Regions from separate parts of the Homo sapiens genome. Here region 2 is linked to region 1. The links are contacts of gene promoters, found by promoter capture Hi-C in human tissues and cell types (Jung and others, 2019). All regions are on one chromosome and are shown on one strand. The core of a region is centred on a gene start or on the middle of the fragment in contact, and the rest is flanking DNA. Distances in the headings are between cores, read along the strand shown. Region 1 holds the start of SIRPA (signal regulatory protein alpha). Region 2 overlaps STK35 (serine/threonine kinase 35).

Region 1 (6,233 bases), core at 601-3,100:
ACAGGGTTGGGCCTTCTCTCACCTTGTGTCATTCCTGTCCTCTTAACCGCCACTGTGTGAACCAAAATTCTCTCCCATTAGCAGCGGGGTCTTGAACTTGTGTTCCTCCCACAGTGCGGAGCCTTCTGCCAGGTGACCACGACACTGGCACTCCCCATCACTGACCTGGCTACTACAGGAACGGCGTTCCCTCCGGGAAAACCGGGGTTCTGTCCTCTCCAACTCCAGGCCTCTGGCCCCGGCTCCCCTTCCCCTCATCTTCCTCAGGGCTTGTCCTTCTCCCGGAACCCAGGCCTTCAGGGCCCCGCTCTCCCACACACGCCCCGGCCTGGGCCTCCCACCCGCCCAGTCCGCCCTCCACCACCGAGACACCTGGCCAGGGGGCCTCCACCTCCCTGGGAAGGCCCCGACCCTTCCCCTCTGGTTGCGCGCCACAGCCCCCTTCTCGCTCCCTCTCCTCCCCGCGCCTCTTTTCCAGGCGGCACCGAAGTCCTTCCTACACACACGCTATTTTTGTACCATCATCTCTTCTTCCTCTCCCCTTCCCCCTGCGTTCACTTACTTCCTTCTTTTCCTTCACCTCGGCCCGGCTCTGAAAGGATCGGGCCCCTCCGGCCCGCACCCACCCCCAAGAGGGGCCTTCAGCTTTGGGGCTCAGAGGCACGACCTCCTGGGGAGGGTTAAAAGGCAGACGCCCCCCCGCCCCCCGCGCCCCCGCGCCCCGACTCCTTCGCCGCCTCCAGCCTCTCGCCAGTGGGAAGCGGGGAGCAGCCGCGCGGCCGGAGTCCGGAGGCGAGGGGAGGTCGGCCGCAACTTCCCCGGTCCACCTTAAGAGGACGATGTAGCCAGCTCGCAGCGCTGACCTTAGAAAAACAAGTTTGCGCAAAGTGGAGCGGGGACCCGGCCTCTGGGCAGCCCCGGCGGCGCTTCCAGTGCCTTCCAGCCCTCGCGGGCGGCGCAGGTCCGGGCCCGGCAGGGACGGGGAGGGGCAGAGCGGGACCGGTCGGGGCTGGGGACCAGCCGCGCGGGCTTCTGAACGGGCACGCTGTCGGAGCCGGAGGCTCGTCTAGTCCCGAGCCCCAGCGGGCCGCGGCGGCTCGCGGGGCCGCCTTCCCGGGACAGCAGCCGGGGCCCGGGCGCCGGCGCGGGGGAGGACGCTGCCCTCCCCGGCCGGGCGCGCAGCTCGCAGCCCTCGCTCCCTCCCCCGGGGCGCGCAGGCGGGCGCTCGCTCGCAGAGAAGGTGCCGGCGGGGCCGGAGCCCCGAAGCCTCCCCGGGCGGCGGGAAGACGGGAGGAGGGGAAAGGGAAGGAGGGAGGGGGTCGGGCTGCCGGGAGGGCGGGGGCAGCGGCCGGGACTGCGGGCCGGGAGCGAGCCCAGCCGCCCGCGCCGTGTGGAGCCCGGGCGGGGCAGGTGGGCAGCGGCGGGGGCGGCTCCGCGCGGCCGGGCTCGGCCGTGCTGCCCCTCGCCCCTGCTCGCGCGGTCCTCTCTCCCGCGCGGTCTGTCGGTCTGCGCGCCGCCTCGCTCCTCGCTCCTCGCTCTCCCCCTCTTTCTCCCCCTCTCGCCTCTCCGTGTCTCTGGCTCTCTGCCTGGCTCCCTTGGGTCTGTTTCTCTCTCCTGCCGCCTCTCTCTGGCCGCCCCTGGCTTTATTTCTCGCGCGCTTGGGGTCTCTCCCAGTCTCCGTCTCTCCATTTCTCCTGGGGGGCGGGGAGGGGGGGTCTCCAAAAACCGCGGCGGCGGCGGCGGCCGCTCCAGGCGCCCGTTCCGGAGTCGGGGGGAGGCCCAGCCGGGAGGGGGGAAGGGGGGGAGCCTTAGTCATTTCCCCGCTCCAGCCTGCTCCCGCCCGAGCGCGCACTCACGGCCGCTCTCCCTCCTCGCTCCGCAGCCGCGGCCCATGGAGCCCGCCGGCCCGGCCCCCGGCCGCCTCGGGCCGCTGCTCTGCCTGCTGCTCGCCGCGTCCTGCGCCTGGTCAGGTAAGCACCCCCCCGCTCCCCACCGCTGCACTCCCCAAACTGCGGGCTCAGGCCTCTCAGACTGGCACTGGGACCCCTTCGGCTAATGCCGAGCAGTAATAGGGGGAGAGACGCCTGTAACCAGGGTTATAGATGCAGAAACTGAGGCCCAGAGAGGGCCAGCGACATGCCCAAGGTCACACAGCCAAGGGTAGAACCCAAGTCTCTTCTATGAGAGTTTGTCTCTGTGGACTCTGACTCTGTGCACTGTGCTGGGCACTGAGACAAAAGAGCCGAGTTGCTTCACTCAGCCCCTGCCCGGTCCAATGGGGAAGGCTGACTGACAGTGGCTTTCAGAGCAGGGCCGTCCGGCTTCCCCAGAATCTGTCCCCATGGACATACGACTTTCCACATGTTTGACTTCAGGGTGTGAGGGGAGGAGGTGAGGGCAGAGGTCCTCCCGATGCTGCCTGGAATGGAACAGAGACAAGCTGTTGCAATTAGGGAAGAGTGAGCCCTCCCTCTGGTGCGCAGAGTAAACCGGTGTTAGTGTGTGCCTGGGAGAGAGGGAGCCGGGAGGCCGCGGTAACCCCAGAGCGAGCTGCTGCGAGCAACAGATCCTTATGTAAAAACACGGTGGATTGTCCCTGTGGTTGCCAAAGCCTCTCCCTGGTGGTCTTGCTCCTTGAGGCGCTCCCAGCTCCCCCTTCCTCCTGCCTTCCCCGAGCTTCCAGGCAGCTCCCTGCAGTTCAGGTGCTCCGCGGGGATGTTACCTGTGGCTCTGACCATGTCTTTCTGTTGGCCTACATCAAACACCTGGCTGTCGCCGGCAGGCGGGCTCTGAAGGCTACTGTGCATGTTCACCAAAGGGTGAGGTCACCATTCAGGAGTCTTGCTTCTTAAATGGGTTTTGCAAAACCATGGGTCTCCTGGGAGGGCACCGGGTGGGGGGCGGGGGGAGCAGAGAAATGGCATTAAGGGAGTTGGGAGGGAGAGAAAAATGGGGATCTTGTTTTTTGTCGTCTTGAAACTGTGTTGTAGGCAGTGGGGTCTCTCTGTACCTCCCACCCTTGAGGAGGGAGGTAAAGATGAGCTCAGTGTCCAACACCCCCTTTTGCGTTTGACTAGAGATGGTAACCATCTGATAGCAGGGAGAAAGGGAGAACTAGCAAAGAGTGGGTGGAAGGAGAAGTATGGGGGGTAGACAGCTGCTTCTCTCTGCCCTGCAGTTTCCCCTGAAACCCAGGAATTCACATAGGCATCCCCCCACCCCACCCCACCCTCCACCCCCAGTTCTTTTCAGTTATAGTTGCGTCCTTGCTGGGCTGAAGGGAGCACTGATACAGTTCACGTCTCTCCAGTGAGTGGCATCTCCTATCTGCTCCTTCCTGCCTGAGCTGGCCATTTGTACCCTGCAAAAGTCCGAGTTCCTGCCCTGCCATCCTTCCTGGCCTGGAAATGCACAAGTGTCACTCACAAGTGCTTAATTTTCCTGAAGCAGGGAATTGGGCCCGAGTTAATTTCTAAATGTCTATTCCAGACCCTTCTCCGACCAGGAGGCTGTGGTTCAGTCCCTGGCAAACGAGCAGTGACGCTGATTAGCAAGTGCTCCGATGGGCAGCCTGCCTTTCCTGGGGCACCGGCTGGGAACACCAACACCTTTCTTGTGAGCACATCTCCCCCTTTTGCCTATAAAAACAGTCTATAAGATGGTAAAGATTGGGCCATAAAACTTCCGTTCCAATCCATTCAGCATCAATAGCCTGAAAAAGTGGGAGCAGCAGAGGGGCCAAGATTAGCTTTGAAATAAATAAATCTTAGGAGGTAAGAATGAATTTCTTGGTCGAGGGTGGTGGGGAAGGGATGAGGTGCGACCATCATAGCTCAAGTCTCCCATTATCCTTCAGTATCTGTTCTTCGGGGTCCTGGTCACACCATGGGCCTGGGCAGGGAAGTCACCTGGTTTGGCTGAAGGATGGGGCCTCAGGCCCCTCCCCCTATTGCTCCAGACATGGAATTTACAACAAAGAAGTAGAGAGACAGGATATGAGGGTAGGAAGGTACAAGGAGGCAGTTGTCCAATTTTCTAAGAAAATGGATTTGTTCGAGTGAGAAACTAAAATGTCAGGTTTAGGAAGGCGGCTTTGGATTGAATGACTACTAGTGTCTCAGGCAGAACTGTCAGCCTGGGAGGTGTCACATGATTCCTGTGTCTTCACATGATCACTGTTTTGGGGGGGTGGGGCCAATCATGTGAATTATCCTGGGTGGGGGAGGCAAGAGAAGAAGTTTCTAAAGATTGCTTTTAGCACAAATGCTGCCAAAGGGAAATTCTAAAAAGATCCCAGTGAAGTCACCAACCTATGTTTTTGGACCCAATGTGAGGCCTGTTTCCTAAAACAACTGCACTGAGGGAGATTCTGAGGCTGGGAGAAGGGCAAGGGACTGAGGCCTGGGGACACCTGGCACCTGATTTTGTGTCAGCAGGGCCTGACGCTGAACCCGCAGGATGCCTGCTTGGCCCCAGGTAGGCCTTGAGACCTCTGAGTCACCCCCCAGGCCGACCTCAGATAAACTCCCATTCATTTCTTCTCTCTGGCCTGGAGGAGGCCAAGCCAAGTTGCAGTTCAGGCTCTGGGGAGCAGCGGGGCCCCCCAGTGAACCTCTCACCGTTTGGTAGAGGGTGGCACTCTGGGGGCTCCTCTGTACTTTCCTAAATGGTAAAGTTAATCTCACTTCCTCTTTCGTAAGAAGAGAAAACGGGGCGGGAGTGCTTTGGCTCAACACATCAGGCTGTTGGAAGTTCCTTTAAAGCCATAGTTTTCTCTGAGTACTTTCTGGCCTTTACCAACCCCTCGGAAACTCACGGTAATTCACGTCTGTACTTGCAGTCATGCAGCACCTATGCAGTGCTGGTGTGAACCATGTGTTGAGAGAAGGGAGGAAAACCAACATTCATTAGATAGTTAATGGCGTTCCAGGCCGGATGCTGCTCCTGCGTCGTCTCACCCGCAAGACATGGATTGGCTCTTCTCCCCATTCTGCAGATGCAGAAAATCGAGTCCCAAACTGGGGAACTAACTTATAAGTGATAGAGAGGAGCCAGGATTTTGGATGCTGGCCTTCCTGCTGGGTGGCTTCTAGGGAAGAAGCTCAATGACTTAATCAGGATGATTTAGTCCAAGCTGGAGAGGGAGTGAGAGAGGCCCCTTTCTGGCCTTGGGTGGAGGACTGTAGAAGAGTTCTTTCTCTGGGCAGAAGGTTTTGATGAAGTCACAGGCATTTCTCTGAAAGCCTGCTGAGGGTGGAAATACTGACAGCCCCTTGGTCCTCACCAGTAACAACACATGAGAGGTGATGTGGCTCCTGTGAGAGCCCCCCATCTGGGCTGCTGAGCTCTGGAGCCCCCAGAGCTGGAATATTCCTCCCTGCATCTTCCTGGTGCCCTTTGCGACAGATGGAGAGGGGGTGTGCGAGAGGAAGGGAGTCTAAAAGTGTTGTACGGATCCCACACGCGCTCGCTTGCTGCTTCCAATGGCTCCGTGCGACAGGTTATTTTCTTATTTGTAGTCTTGGACTGACGGAAGGTTTCCCCCCTCTCTCTCTCTTTTTAAATGTGCTCAGATTTCTGGCCTGTCAACACAACTCAGATCATGTCACTCCCCAGCTCAAAACTGTTGAGTGGGTCCAAGTTTTCTTTAAAAAAAAAAAACAAAAAAACACAAAGCTGCCGTGAGGCCTGGGCTTCCTCCCTGCCAGGCCTGATTTCCAGCCACATGTTTTCCAACAAGCTGACCTGTTGAGATGCTGCAGGATAACCAGGCTTCCTCCCTGCAGACCAGAGCTTTGCTGGCTACTCAGCCACACGAGCACCCCAAAGACCCTGAGAAGCCCTGCAATGTAGAATCCCGAGCTGGGTCACATTTACTCCAGTGTTCCCTGAACTTATGAACGAGAGGCATTTGATTTGTAGTATGCCCGTTAGCATGTGGCCTCTCTCCGTTTGGTAAACGGTTTTCTACAGATCCATGCCCTCAGCTGAACTCTCAGCTCTGTGCCTTGGCCCGTGCTGTTCCTGCCATCAGAAATGCCCTCCCTGTACCTCCTTGTCTTCCTGTGTCTGAATCCTACTCATCCTCCGAGGTTCAATTTAATGTGCCTCCTGGGGAGAGGTCAGAGGAGCCTCTCCACGCAGACACACACCCTGGCCTAGCGCTAAGATGGTGCTAAGACCCCTGGGTGTTGATCTGAGCCCTGCTACTGACTTGGACAATTTGCAGGAAT
Region 2 (6,838 bases), core at 3,364-5,863, 250 kb after region 1:
ATTTTGCCCGTTCTGTATACCCGAAGACTGAAAACAGTGTTATCCCATTTGTCAGTACTCCCATTCCTTCGACCCTGACAACAGGCACGTTCACAGCACAGTCATCCCTGTTTTTGCCCTACTTTAAGCACCACAGTTGGGAGTGCAGCCTTAGAGGAATGATGCATCAGGAAGCGTGACTCCCTGGCCTTGGTGCCTCTGAGTGATTGGAGGAGACATTCGTGCTGGGGCCACCGAACCCCCAGGGCTGGCATGTTGATGTCTGAATGTGAAAAGCCAGATGCTTTGGTGTATTAAACAAGTGAAGAATGACTAACCCCACTTAGAGGAAGGAGAGGACTGCCGTCTGTGACCCTGACAGATGACTTTGCCTCTGTGCACTTGTGAGGCCTGCTTGCTCCACAGCACGATATGCTGAAAATTAATAACCTGAGCCTCAGTTTGCTCATCTGTAAAATGAGGATAATTCTTACATGGTCCTTTGGACAAATGAGGTGTTGCATATTCAGTTTGCACGGCAGCTAGCATGTCATAGGTATCATTAGCTACAGTGATAATGCCACTACACAGGACTGCGGGTGAATTTAGGTAGGAGTGAATTCTTGGCTAGCCACCCAATAATACCCCACTTTGAGTTTATACTGTACCTTAGTCTATGAGTATGCCAATGGGATGACTTTCTTTTCTATTAACTAAATCTGAGAGTCAGGATAGAAAGAGAAAATTGGGCTTTGGGTTTGAAGTCCCAGTCTGTGATACCCTAAGAACCAAAATGACCATTAACATGAATGACAGCAAGATCGATCTTACTGAATGCCCCACCCTGGGTCAGGTGCCATGACAGGCAATTTACTTGAAGAATTCTTCACTCTTCACAGCAGGCCCCTGAAGAGGAAAGAGTTCCATGCCCATTTTCTAGTTTAGGAGAAGGAGATCATGGAAGTAGCTAGTAAATGGCAGAGCTTGCATTTGAACCAGGACTGTCTGCCATAGAGCCTGTGTTCTTCCCTGAGGGAGCACTGGAGTGACGATAAACCTCGTGGTTACCAGACTTCCACATTTCCTAAGATGGTGCAATTTTAAAAACTGGGGAGGCAGGTCCAGGAGGGAAGCAATTTTTAAAACCATTCCTACTTACTTTCATCATCATTTCATCAAAGAAATGATGTTTTAGGCCAGGCATGGTAGCTCATGCCTGTAATAATCCCAGCACTTTGGGAGACCAAGGCAGGAGGATTGCATGAGCGAAGCCAGGAGTTTGAGACCAGCCTGGGCCACATAATGAGACCCCGTCCCTACAAAAATAAAAATTAAATCTAGCCAGGTGTAGTGGCATGTACCTATAATCCCAGCTGCTCAGGAGGCTGAGGCAGGAGGGTTGTTGAGCCCAGGAATTTAATGCTGCAGTGAGCTATGGTTGTGCCACTGTACTCCAGCTTGGGTGACAGAGTGAGACCCTGTGTCTTAGAAAAGAAAGCAAAAGGTAATGACATTTTGACACTAATAAAGTAGGAAGGCCATCCTTTTAGAGTAAGGGATAATCACCAAGGTATTCTGTGCCTGCAGGCTGAGGAGTAGGGGAAGGAGGTGAACACGTGAGCCATCCTTGTCTCCAGCCCCATCCTGCTGTGCATGTTCCCCTCATATCTCCCAGGCTTCTGTTCTCCAAGCTGCTAATGGCCTTCATGAAAGTAGTTCAGTTTCTCAGTCTTCTTAAACAGACCAGACACCTGCCTGACTGGCAGAGAAGCTTGCTGGAAGACCGTTCACTGCCTGGTTGGCACCATGTCCCCTTTTGTCCCCCGAGCACTAGACCTGTGCACAGGCACGTAAGCCTTCCATGAGCCTTTTTTCTGAGTGAGTCTATTTATAAATGAAGGGATTAGATGGGTTTTAAACTCCACTTAAGACTCTTCTTGTCTTCTCTAGGAAGGGATTTTGCATCGTTACATGTCAAAAGCAGGGGATTTGGAGTGAGACTGCCCTGAGTTAAACCCTTTTCTCTACCACTTACTGTCTATGAGGCTGTTCTCTCTGAGCTTCAGTTTTCTCATCTCTAAGACGAGGGGGACGATAACCCCTACCTCTTAGGGTTGCTGGGGTGAAATGAGGCAATGGATGTAAAACACTCGATCCTTTAACAGTGATTGGAAAGCAGTGTTGCTTTACGAGGTTGTTGCCTATAACACAGTTAGAACTTGCACAGACAGACTGCTCAATAAGTGATTGCTGTTACGCCAGTTACAGAGAAATAAGAAGGTGGGGTGCACTGAGAGAACTTGGTCCAAGAGCTGAAATGAGAAAGGTAAGGATTCATAGCACATTTTCCCAGATCACTGACACCTTCCACCCCCAAGGTCATCTCAGGTGCAAGCTACTGGAACCATTGCTGAGCCGGCTTTGGAAGCACTGATTGAAGACTATCATAGTGCAGAGACTTTGGGTAGTAAAGCTGGAAAACTTTGGATTAAGTGCTGGTTCTACTGCTCAGCAACTCTGGTGTGGGGCAAGTTGCTCCATTTCTCTGGGCCTGTTTTCTTGTGAAAACTGGCCAAATCCCTCCTCACAGTAATCATGGAAGGGCACTACAGATGTCAGTTGCAGGTTTATCACATCACCACTTTTCATTATGCTTAGCAGGTGTGATTTTTGCCCTCAAGGAGCGGGCTCTGGTCAGAGGTAGGGGTTCCACAGAGAGGAATGAGAAGAGCCCCGGTAGAAGCTGGTAGCCAGGCAGTCAGGCACAGCCTGAGCAGTCAGGGAGCTGAGATGTGGCATCTGCTAGGATGAAGCACCACAAGCCTAAGGCCTCCCCAAGGGCCCACTGGGGCTGAGACCTACACCCTTTATTGTGCCCACAAGTACCTGGGAGGGTCTGTGCTTAAACTCAGAACCATGTGGTCTGAGCCATTCCTGTTCATAGCTACAGAAAGCGCCTCCACTACCTTCGGTGAGCTTACTGTGCTGTTAGCTCCCTGGGAAAAATGCTCTTTCTGTGATGGCAGATGGGAAAAGAACCCCAAGCCAAGATCCTCTCCCCAGTAGAGAGCCCTCTTATTTTCCTTCTTTGTGCCCACAAGAGAGAACCAGACTCAGACCTGTAGGCTGTTCTGAGGCTTCCAACAGGAGGGCCAGAGCCAGTGCCAGAGCTAGAGGGAGCAGGGAGGAGCCTTTGGGAAATGTCAGCTTCACTTCCTGGCATGGGACCCAGTGATTACAGCGGTCATTACAAGCTGGTGTCTCAGGAGTTCTTGCAGAGTGCTGTGCTGTTGGTCTGACCTTCTGTAGTCACACTGTGTTCTGCTAGTTTATTATGTAAAAAGGAACCTCTGGTTTCTGAACCTGCCTCCTTGCCAACACTGCTTTTCAGCTGCCACATGCTACCTTCCTGCTGATGGGCATCCTTTTCAGGAGATTGTCCGCAGGGAGGGAGGAAAGGAATGCTGGAAAGTCATAACTGGTCCCAAAGATTATTTTAGCACATCACATGTGGCTGTATAATTTCTCATCGTATTTCACAAGGTCTTAATGTCTCAGATGGTGAGGGCCTACCCTAAATACCCTCTTCCCCCATCTTCAGGTTGATCTGCTGTGTCTACGGAAAGCACGGAGAGAAAGCAATAGGCATGCTAAATAGAGCTAGAGTTTGAGATGGCTGCTGAATCATCAGGGAATATGTTTATGATGATTTTCTTTTTCCAAGTCAAAAACTGGGATACAAGACCCACAAGTGGATTTTTTTGAGGGGAATTAACAGACCAAGGAACAGAAGCAGCAGAGTGAAAGACTGGGCCCGAGAAATCCTGTATTTTCTTTCCAGATCAGCCACACCCACTTTCTTGGTCACCCGCTCCCTGGGCAGTAGAGCAGGGAGTCACATAGTCTAACCTCCCGTTTGGCAGTGTGGAAGCTCTCCTTTGTCCACTGGGCATGGAAGAGTCCAGACAAGACCCCACATCTGGACCTTTCTATTGGAGCTGCCAGCTTTTCTTGTTCATTAAAGTACCCTATTTTTCCTATTAAAAACTAAAATATAACATTGGTGTGTGTTCATTATTAAAAATCAGAAGTGAGGGAAGAGGAAAATCCAGTCACAACAAGCACAACATGTTGGTGTATTTATTGTCAGATTTTCCTACACTGAGGGGTTTGTGTTTTTACATAGTTATGGTCATGCTGTGCGCTACACAACTTTGTAACCTACCCTTTTCCACCTACCCCAGGGAAGTGCTTTTGTCATAATCTTCAAAATGTCATGCAATGATCTCATTTCCTCTGTAGTATATCAGTGCGTTGAAGGATCATTTGCTTACTTAATCCTTATTTTTGGACTTGTGAGTTGTTATATTTCAGTGAACTTCTTTATCCATAAAGTTCTTTTCATATTTAGGTTTATCTGTTAAGCTTGGCTTTCAGGAGTAGAATTTCAGGGAGCTACCAATCTAAACACCTTTGAAGCCCTAAAAACAGTGCCAGACTACCTTCCAGAAGCCTTATCCCCTCCTCCAGCAGTGTGCGGGGCACCCTCACCAGCCAGAAACACTTTCAGTGGTTGCGTGGCTGAGAACCATGGCCTGTTCAGATTTAACACGTTTATAGTCTCTGGTTGGGGACAGTTGGCCAGGAAGGGGTAGAGTCATTGAGTATGTTTGTCCCTGCTGTGGGCCAGGAACCTGAGTCATTCCACCCAGACCTCAACCAAGAGTCCCCAGTGCTCAGAGGGAGAAACTGAGGCCAACAGACAGTAAATTATCCAATATTGTCCTATCCTGCTGCCTCTTGGGAGGACTGGCCAGGTCCCTTCCCAGGAGCTGAGGACAACGAGCTGGTGTTGTCAGCCCGCACAGGTGGCAAGTCATGGCAGCCACGGTGCTGGCTCTGCCTGACAAAGAAAGGCACGCACAGTGAAAGACTTGTCTGCTTTGGTCATTCGGGCACTTTAAAAACTCCTAGATGGGCCAAGGTAGGTGGATCACTTGAGCCCAGGAGTTCAAGACCAGCCTGGACAACATGACAAAACGTCGTCTCTACTAAAAATATAAAAATTAGCCTGGCGTGGTGGCATGTGCCCTGTAGTCACAGCTACTCAGGAGGCTGAGGTGGGAGGATCACTAGAGCACAGGAGTTCAAGGTTGCAGTGAGCTGTGATCAAGGCACTGTACTCCAGCCTGGGTGACAGAGCAAGACCCTGTCTCAAAAAACCTCCTAGATGATTCCATGTGCAACGAGGCTGGAGCACTGTTGCCCTAGATGGCCCGCCCTGCCCAGGACAGCGCTATACTTAGCACTGATCCGATAGCTCAGAGTGGGCGCTGCCCAAGACTAATCTCTGTGGGCCCTTGTATTCTAGGCCTCCAGTAGAATAAGCCACTGAAGGGCAGGCTTCTTGTCTTATTCCTGAGGCCTGGCACTAAGGCAGTTTCCAAATAATAGCCAACACTAATAGGATCAGGCACTCTTCTTGGTTTTACGTTCATTTAATCTTCATAATAGCCTGTGACGCAGGTACAGGTGATGAGACCAGGGAACAGAGGACTTAAATTCCCCCACAGTCGAGGGGCAGCTCCTGTTTACTCAGTTGCCCGTTCTGGCTCCAGAGCCCTCGTTCTTAACCCCCACAGTGCACTGCAGCAGACAGTGCAGGCCCAGTCCAGCCCTGCCCCTGGGTGTGGGATTCTGGCCCATGTTAAGACCTGAGCAGGTAGCCTGGTTCGGATTCTCAGAGGCCTGAGCTTCACTCTTCTCTTCTGTAAAACAGGATTACTGAACCTAGAGAGGGTTGCTGTGGCGTTTCTAACAAACAGCACAATTAATCACAGAGAGTGGGGAAGAAAGCATGAGTGGAAGCAGTGCTGGCAAGGTCTGTGGGGACAGACTATCCAGGGTGGGCCCTGCGGTGTCTTGCTCCTAATAGTACGGGGAAGCCAGGGTTCAAGATTGGTTTGACAGCTAGAGCCAGCAAGCTTGGGTTCCCAGCTAGTGTCTGCCCCTTAGTCAGTGTGCCCTTGGGTAAGTTACTTAACCTGAGCCTCAGTTTCCCTATCTGAAAAATAAGCATGTGTGAATAAGACCAGGGAGGTTGTGAAGCTAGATTTACCCCATCTCTTTAGAGCTCTGCCCCACAGCCCCCAGCACACACAGCTTCAGTGTTCCTCTGGGTTGAGGGCTGGTGCCCAGGCCTGCTGACCAATGTCCCCTCCTTACCCGCCTTCTGTCTTCCAGGTCGATTCCTCGGGACCCACAGTCTCACCACGTCTCCTCCAGAGGACGGCAGAGGGTACAGGTGGTGGCCTGGCCGGTTGGCGATCTCCCGACAGCTGGATCCGGCAATGTGAAGCTTTTGTTTGGGTTTCCCCGCTTCTTTTTAGTTTTGCTTTATTTTTTTCCTTTTCTTTTCTTTTTTTTTTTTCCTCTTTCCTTTTTTTAAATTTAAACCATTGAGACTTCAGAAGAGCAGGACACAATGCTGTGGACAGGCACCAATTTCTTTAAAGAAATTCAATGTGGGCAAGGCATATGTGTAAATTTCACTTTTACTTTTTATAAGGGGTTAGGGAGCTATTTTTGGTTTTGTCCTTCACTTTCCCTCTGTCTTCCTTCTTTATACTTTTCTCAGTTCTACTTATGACACCTCACTTCCCTAGAGAAGGCCTGCCTCCCCATAGGGAATCTGGGGGTTTCTTCTGGAACGGGGCGTGAGGACACAAGGAGGCCTCTGGGCCACGCCTCCCTACCAGATGCAGGAACTCCTGGACTCCTTGGTGGGCTGGCCCTGGCTAGCCCTTGGGCCTCGGAGATGATCAGAGGTGAAGAACCGCCTGGAAGAGGAAGGCCAGGG

The links. Contacts are between HindIII fragments. The study calls those that stand out against the background at their distance.
Region 2: a fragment that was not itself captured here is called in contact with the fragment with the promoter of SIRPA in region 1 in 2 of the 25 tissues and cell types used here (dorsolateral prefrontal cortex and lymphoblastoid cells).

The regions. Positions count from the first base shown.
Region 1 is chr20:1,893,557-1,899,789 of GRCh38, forward strand. SIRPA (signal regulatory protein alpha) reads left to right here and starts at 1,851. Exons shown (of 8, transcript NM_001040023.2): 1 at 1,851-1,970. The coding sequence starts at 1,892. LOC102724545 (a long non-coding RNA gene) reads right to left here and starts at 694. Exons shown (of 4, transcript NR_186374.1): 1 at 563-694. RefSeq lists silencers at 815-1,074, 1,085-1,204 and an enhancer at 2,496-3,011. The HindIII fragment of the contact is 18,060 bases long and covers 1-6,233 here.
Region 2 is chr20:2,137,562-2,144,399 of GRCh38, forward strand. STK35 (serine/threonine kinase 35) reads left to right here. Exons shown (of 4, transcript NM_080836.4): 4 at 6,223-6,838. LOC124900458 (a long non-coding RNA gene) reads left to right here. Exons shown (of 2, transcript XR_007067499.1): 2 at 1-4,037. Among named protein-coding and RNA genes, the nearest start is that of STK35, 39 kb to the left of the region's middle. The HindIII fragment of the contact is 3,073 bases long and covers 3,078-6,150 here.